Linked DNA regions of Homo sapiens: region 1 is linked to region 2. Evidence: promoter capture Hi-C in human tissues and cell types (Jung and others, 2019). All regions are on one chromosome and are shown on one strand. Each heading gives the region's core, a stretch centred on a gene start or on the middle of the fragment in contact. The rest is flanking DNA. Distances are from core to core; before and after follow the strand shown.

Region 1 (4,246 bases), core at 454-2,953, 36 kb before region 2:
AAGGAATGTTGGCCAGCTTTTGTCAGAGTCGCTGAGGGATCCTGACCAGATCAGTACCATGTGTTGAGAAAATGATCAACTAGATTAGGTTCCTGCCATGAGAAGGACCTGCTACTGGGTGTGAAGAAGTGATGATGCAGTGATGCACTCACATGAACCACAAGAATATAGGGACCAAATTGGGAGAAGCAAGTCCACTTTCCTTTCTCCAATTTTGCAGTCTCTCTCTGTTATCTCTGACTCCACTGGCAAAGTCAAACATCATCTGCTCAGTCCCACCTCCATCATTACAACAAAGCAGAGTATAGAAGGATGAATTTGGATCTCAGTGAAAATTGCATAATCATCAATGCAAGGCTTCAATCTGGCAAAAGTGATGTTATTTAATTTTCAAGGCTAAGTCTCAAGAGGCATCTTTTCCTTTTGCTCACTTTGGATGCTACCTTGAGATCACCATGTACTGAAGGTAGTCTGGCTATTTGGAGGATGAGAAGCCACATGAAGGGGAATGATGGCATCCCAGAAGCCATCTTGGACCTACCATATTTTCTTGGGAGCTGGAAGCATATGTCCAGCTGTACCGTAGAATTGCTTCAAGTTAGGTGTTCTGTGTGCTTTCTGTTATTCCCTTTGAAGGGGACTGTCTAATGGAGTTCTCTAGTTTCTCTCTAATCATTGTATGATGGATATCTTAATAATTAGTCTCTAGAAAACAGCTCTCTGGACCCACATAAATGCAGCCAAGAAGTTGTGCCTATATCTGAACTAGATGTAGATTGTGAGATAGTGGGGTTTCTGTCTGATTCTGTAATGAGAGGAGAGTTGGAGGGGAAGGATGAGCAATGTTTTGCATGGGTGAGGAATGGAAGTCATCATAATTGGAGGGTGGACTGAGGTAGACTGAAAAACATGGCTGCATTATTTTACAGCTCTTTTCATTAAAATTTTATTACAATGTGTAGAGAACTTAGTTTTCCCAGCCAAGAGCCAAACCAATTACCAGACCTGTGAGGCCACCTTGGATCTTCTAGCCCAGCTTAGCTTCCGGCTGAATGCAAGAGTAAGTCTAGATAAAACTAGCAAAAGAATAGCCCAACTGTATTAGTTCATTTTCATGCTGCTGATAAAGACATACCCGAAACTGGGAACAAAAAGAGGTTTAATTGGACTTACAGTTCCACATGGCTGGGAGGGGCCTCAGAATCATGGTGGGAGGCAAAAGGCACTTGTTCCTTGGTGGCAACAAGGAAAAAATGAGGAGGAAGCAAAAGCGGAAACCCCTGATAAACCCATCAGATCTCATGAGACTTATTCACTATCATGAGAGTAGCATGAGAAAGACTGGCCCCCACGGCTCAATTACATCCCCCCGAGTCCCTCCCACAACACATGAGAATTCTGGGACATACAATTCAAGCTGAGATATGGGTGGGGACATAGCCAAACCATATCACCAGCTAATTCACAAAATCATGAGAAATAATAAATCATTGTTGTTTAAAGTCTCTAAGTTTCGAGGTGGTTTGTCTCACAATGCTAGCCAATCTATATTACTTTAACAGGATCATTCTAGCTATTTGGTTCAAGGAAGTCTATTAGAAGTAAGGGTGAGGAAAATATAAGGAACTAGAGAAGAAGGAAAACGTTATTCTATTCCTCAAGCTCAAATTAGAAATTAAATTTTGAAAAACATAGAATATTTAAGGCAACAAAATGAATCTGTGATGGTAGACATTAAGGCAACAAGAAATAAACAAGGAAAGGTGGTTTTTAAGGCAAGGATCCTTACTAATGTCTCTAAAATCATACAATGCATGAACTATATGTAAAAAACTGAATATAGTTTCTGAATACATATAATAATAATAACTAGAATTTAAATATACTAACTCATCTTTTCCTCACAATAAATCTATAAAAATTATACTATTATCTCTAACTTATAGGTGAAGAATTAGAAGTATAGGAGATTAAGCACCTTACCTCAGTTTGCAAAGCTAGTGAGAATTGGAGCTAGAATTCAAAGTCATACAGATTGAAAGTTCTAGAATCTGTTCTCTGAACTACTAGCTACACCTCAAAGCGAAAGAATTTGGAGTGTTTCAGTTAAGTAGTTGACATTTACTGAATTTAAACTGCATTCAATTCCTAATGTGTATAATATATTTTATCTGAATTCATGATGTATAGTTATAGGTTTGTTTTTGTCCTTAAAATTATTCCATTTTTTTAATGTAAATCTAAGACTCAGTCTAGCTATGATGGTAAGTAGAAAAGAGTGAGGGCAATTTTCCTAGAGCAGAGGATACGTGAGTTAGGTATTAAAGAAATAACAAGAATAAAACATCTTCCAAATTTCTGTGCACGTCAAAATCTTATCTAGTTTTCAAATTACAATATACAGGCTATGTTTTTTTATAAAAGCATTTCTGACTTTTTCCAGCCTGAAGTCATTGCTTTTCCACCAAATTTTTTAAATAACAAATATATCTCTCAGGACATATTTTCTATCTTGTCTGACATTTATTTATAGATATGTTGTATCTTCTTTAAGATGGAATCCAGGCAAGGTTTATTTTTGTATTTCTTTTCCTTCCAATGTGATGAGTAGATAGGTGAGTGGAAGAATGAATGGATGATTAAAAGGATAGATGGATTGATGAATGAATGTCTCATGCCTTTGAAGTAACTCACACTTTTAATCCACATTTTCAATATTGCCAAGGGAATATTTTTTGTAAAAAAAATTGTTTTACTCCAGCCAGGCACGGCAGCTCACGTCTGTAATTCTAGCACTTTGGGAGACTGAGGCTGGTTGATCACTTGAGGTCAGGAGTTCCAGTCCAGTCTGCCCAACATGGTGAAATCCCATCTGTACTAAAAATACAAAAATTAGCCAGACATGGTGTTGGGCTCCTGTAGTCCCAGCTACTCAGGAGGCTGAGGCAGGATAATCATTTGAACCCAGGAGGCAGAGGTTGCCGTGAGCCGAGATCACACTACTGCACTTCAGCCTGGGTGACAGGGCAAGACTGTATCTCCAGAAAAAAAAGAAAAGAAAAGAAGAAAGCTTTACTGATATGCTAAGACAAATTAATGATAAGTTGTTGAATTGTTTCATAGAATTATCCGGGTAAGAAGGATATGCCATGTTGTTTGGCCTGATTGCCTGTCTTTCCACAAAACTACCCAATAGTCATTTTTTAATAATCATTTTGAAATTGTCATTACTCATCCCCCTAGTCTGTTTCTTTTATTAATTCATTTTTGTGCATCTGTTTGAATATCCATATGTAAGGAACTATTTCACTGATGTGCCAGGCCTTTCTTATTTCCAATCAAAGTATTTCTCATCATAATATAAGCTTATTTTTTCTTAATTTTTGAATGCAGAGACTACCTCTGATACTTAAAAAAAGTAAATCAGTTACCCAGGACTGTCACATAATTTGCAAGGATAAGTGGAAAATAAAGATGTGGGCCCCGTGTTGAAGAAATATTGTTAATTTCAAGATGGCGACAGCAGGTCATTAAAGCAATCACGGGGCCCTGTGTGACTGCATGGGTTTCACACTCATGAAGTGGGCCCTGGAGTTACCTTTAGACTTTTCGTCTGTAACCTTGATAATTAGCTATTTTGCCATGGAAGCAGAATTAAATACCTCTTTACTTCACTTTCCAGTGGTGAAACAAAACAAAACAAAACAAAACAAAACAAAACGAAATGAAACAAAACACCTTTGATGATAACCATGAAATGCCACCGAACATGTACTTTAGGGGTGGTTAGGCTGTGTATTTACATGTTCTGCCTATTGAGATATTAGAACATTATTGAAGTATAATGTAATACAGATGAGTGCACATTATAGGTGTACAGCTCTACAAATTTTCACCAGTTAAATACTCACAAATAGCCAGAAACAAATAAGGAAACCAAATTATTTGCATCCAGGATATCCCCTTGTGTCCCCTTTGGTTACTTACATTCTGCCACCCAAATTTAAGTAACATCATGACTTCAACAGCCTAGTTTAATTTTGTATGTTTTTATATAAATGTAATAACATAATACGTACTTTTTTATGTCTGTTTTTTTGCGCCCAAAATTATGTTTGAGAGAGTCATCTCTGTCATTACATTCAGTTGTAGTTCATTCACTCTCATTGCTGTGTAAGATTCCATTGTGTGAACATATGACAATTTTTAATCTATTCTTTTGTCGATGGGCATTTGGATAGCTTCC
Region 2 (4,218 bases), core at 1,248-3,747:
TTCCCCAAAATGTATATAGCTGTTTACCTTAAAGTATTTAGGACCATCCATGTTATAATCTACTGACTACAATGTACTTTCAACTTATAAATGAGCTACTCTATATGATATAGACATGATATAAAAAAGGGAAATAGTGTCCCTGTCCCTCTAGGATTCACACAATAATTCAGTAAAATAGTAATTAATGAGACCATGTAAATTGTCTAATAAATTTCAATTTGGCAAATATTTTTCAGGAAAATATCTAAGCTATGAGAATACTAAATTTCTATTGTAAGAATTTAGCAAATATTTCCATTAAACATTCAGTTAAGATGTAGTCTCTCTAATATGTAGAAAGGAGGACTTGTAGCCTATTAAAAACAAGAATAACAATGACAAAAAGTCCCTTAATTTTAGCAGATTAATTACACCTCTTAATCAAGTGTGTGTAACACAAAGAACCAAATCTGGGTCCATAAGTGTTAGAGGATAGTTGATAAAAAGATTCCATGAATAGAATCTGAATAGCCTATGTTTTAGAAAGAATGGGGCAGAATGTTATGGCAATGGAGGGGGCCAGCCTTCAAGATGGCTGGCCCAACCCTGTCGATGTTAAAAAAAACACACCCAATATTTCTACAGTGCTCTTCTAACGTATTTTCTTTATTTCAGGTCACAAGTCTAGGGTTTTCATGGGTCATGTAGCAAGTGGTTTATAAACAAAATCAGAGTCTATAATAGTGTCATTATATTAAGAGGCAGAACTGCTATATGCTTTCATTATGTAAAATGTTTACATCTTGGGACTCCATAGCTGGTATTATTATGGCACACCCGAGATATATCTTGCTCCAATTAGCATTACCATGCTACTCACTATAAAAAATCCCAAAGGCAGACTAGAGAAGATAGAAGGATCACCACCTTCAGGAGACTGACTGGTAACCCAACCCATTGACTTCATTACGGCTTTCTTCCATGTGGCATAACGAATTTCACTTTCTGTGGCCTGGATCTGTGGTTCAAATCGTTCCATCCTGAGAACTGACAAAGCCTGGGGTTCAAGGCTCCAAACGCTTACTCCCTCTGCAGCCCCTGCTGCCATGGCAGCTCCTAGTGCAGTTGTTTCAGGCATAAAGGGTTTTATTACTGGAATATGAAGAATATCTGCTTGTAGCTGCATAAGAACTTTGTTGTTGGTCATTCCTCCATCTACCTGCAAATGACGAAGTGGAATTCCACAGTCACGGTTCATGGCTTCCAAAATCTCTCGGGTTTGGAAACAAACAGCTTCTAATGCAGCAAAAGCAATATGACATTTATTGGTAAACTGAGTGAGGCCACAGAGTATCCCTCTTGCACTGGGCTCCCAATAAGGTGCATATAACCCTGAAAAGGCTGGGACAAAGTAACAGCCATAAGAAGTTCCTACTTCTTTAGCAAGTCTTTCAATGTCTCCTGAGGTCTCTATAATTCCAAGATTGTCTCTTAGCCAACGAATAACAGCACCTGCTATAGCAACAGAACCTTCCAGTGCATAATATGCTGGCTTCTCTCTGCCTAGTTTGTAAGCTACTGTGGTCAAAAGGCCATGTTCAGAAAACACACATTTACGACCCGTATTACACAGTAAGAAGCAACCTGTTCCATAGGTGTTTTTGGCTTGTCCCTCCTGGAAGCACATTTGTCCTACTAATGCAGCACATTGGTCCCCCAAACACCCAGATATTGGCACACCTTCCAGGGCTCCAGTTTTAATTAGGCCATAGATCTCAGAAGAACTGAAGACATTTGGAAGAAGGTCCATTGGAATTTCAAAAAAGTCACAGAGCTCTTTATCCCATTCCAAAGAATGGATATTAAAAAGCATTGTCCTACTTGCATTTGTTACATCTGTACAATGCACGCCTCCATTAACTCCTCCTGTCAAACTCCAGATAAGCCATGAATCAATGGTACCAAAAAGAGCTCTACCTTCTTCAACAGCCTTTTGGACGTTTCTCACATTGTCAAGCATCCAACGAAGTTTTACTGCACTGAAGTAAGTGCTGAGTGGAAGGCCTGTCTTAGACTTGACGAAGTTACTATTTCCTGGAATTTTTTTACTAAGATCCTCAACAGTAGTCTGGGTTCTTAGATCAAGCCACACCACAGCATTGTAGAGAGGCTCTCCTGTTAACTTGTCCCAGATTACAGTGGTTTCCCTCTGATTGCTGACACCAACAGCTTTTATGTTGGATATATCAATATTCAGTTCGTCAAGTTTCTCACACGTTCTCGCTATACACTCGTAGACAGACTGAAGAATTTCTTTAGGGTCTTGTTCCACCCATCCTTCTTTTGGGAACTCTTGTGTTAATTCCACTTTGTGATGACTAAGTAGTTCCGCTGTTTTTGAATTGAAAACCAGAAAGCGAGTGGAGTTGGTGCCCTGGACCACCGCTCCCACCAACGGCCCCACAGCTGCTGTCTTTGGGGCTGCCATGACACCAGTAGGTCGGCTCAGCAGCTCTGGGACCGTTTCCCAGGCCACGGCGGTGTTGGGGGCAGGGAGCGCAGCCAGTCAGGAGCACAAGGCGCAGGCGCAAGGCAACCTTTGCCCTTTAACTGGCGCGGCGCCTTCTCACCCCACCCCTCCAGCCCAGGCTTCACCTCCAGCCACTCAGTTGTCTTCTAAGATTTAATTTTTTTTTTTAAATCATATATTTATCCATGTAATTACAGTTACCGGCGTTCACTCTTTTGTGTGGATCTATATCTCTACGTTATCATTTTCCTTCTTAATAGTGCAGGTCTGCTGGAGATGAATTCTTCCAAATTTGAACATCTGAAATATATTTCATAGTAATATTCAAAGGTATTTTCTCGGGGTATAGAATTCTATTTGACATATTTTTTCTTTTTAAGTTTCAGGACCTTGGAGCTGTTGCTCTACCATCGTCTCTCTTGCTGTTTCAGGTGGAACTTTGCTATTATTTTTAACATGTCTATTTTTCTCTATCTTTAGGGTTTTGCTCTTTATCAGTGGTTTTGCCCAGTTTTATCATGAAGTGTCTTGGAATAGTTTTCTTATTTTCTTTGCTTGGGGTTTACTGAGCTACTTGAATCTGTAGGTTTACAGGTTTCATCGACTTTGAAAAGCTTTGGGCCCATTATTTCTTCAAATGTGTTTTATTCTGTCTCTTCTATCCCTTAGGGACTCCATTGATGCCCTACTCATTATAATTACCTTTTCTCCTTGTCCTTGATTTCAGATAGTTTCTGTTGCTCTCTCTTCAAGTTCACTAATCTTTTCTTCTCCAATGTCTGCTCTGCTATTAATTCATCCAGTACATTTTTCACCTCACATATTGTAGTGTTCATCCCTAGAAGCTCAATTTGGGTTTTTTAATATCTACTTAACTTTCTGAACACATGGAATACAGTTAGAATAACTTTTAATTTCATTTTCTGCAATTCTAACCTCTGTGTCAGTTCTGGTTCGGTTTTGATTGATTGCTTATCTCCTCATTATGGCTTGTATTTCCTGTTTCTTTGCATGCCTGATAAGTTTTAATTAGATGCCAAACATTGTGACTTTTACCTGACTGGGTGCTTGATATTTTTGTATCCCTATAAATGGTCTTGAGTTTTGTTTTGGGATGCAGATAAATTACTTGGAAACAGTTCAATTCTTTTGCGTCTGCTTTTAAGATTTCTTAGATGGCACAAGGATAGTACTCAGTCTGGGGCTAATTCTTCCTCTTTACTGTGAAGAGATCTTTCTATGTACTCTACCCAACACCCCTGACAAATGAGGCTGTTTGGAACAGTAATTCCTCCCAGCCCTGAGTGACCACTGGATACTGTTATCTCTAGTCTTTCCAGGTGCATCTTTCGTTAGCCTCAGTAGTTTTCTCCTATACATGCACTGATCAATACCCAACTGAATACTCACTGGGGGACCCTCTAAAGCTCTCTGGAGTTCTCTCTCTATGCAACTCTTTTTTCTCCAGTGCTATGCCTGGCAGAGTCTAGCTTCTTTGGTTTCTCTAGGCTCTCAGCCTAATCTCCTTGCCATAGGTTTCCACTGAGTTTCAATTGGGTTCCCTGTCTGTGCTGTTGCTTCAAAACTCTCTCAAGAAACTAAGCTGGGGAAATCATAGTAGTCATGTCACTTGTTTTTAATCTCTTAGAAATTACTGCCTTTCATTCCGTGATATCCAGCATTTTGTGAACTGTTGTTTTATATTT

Evidence for each region. Contacts are between HindIII fragments. The study calls those that stand out against the background at their distance.
Region 1: a fragment that was not itself captured here is called in contact with the fragment with the promoter of GK2 in region 2 in 1 of the 25 tissues and cell types used here (bladder).

What each region holds. Positions count from the first base shown.
Region 1 is chr4:79,370,315-79,374,560 of GRCh38, forward strand. No RefSeq gene overlaps it. Among named protein-coding and RNA genes, the nearest start is that of GK2, 36 kb to the right of the region's middle. The HindIII fragment of the contact is 3,027 bases long and covers 191-3,217 here.
Region 2 is chr4:79,405,731-79,409,948 of GRCh38, forward strand. GK2 (glycerol kinase 2) reads right to left here and starts at 2,498. Exons shown (of 1, transcript NM_033214.3): 1 at 631-2,498. The coding sequence starts at 2,470. The coding sequence ends at 809. The HindIII fragment of the contact is 12,605 bases long and covers 1-3,925 here.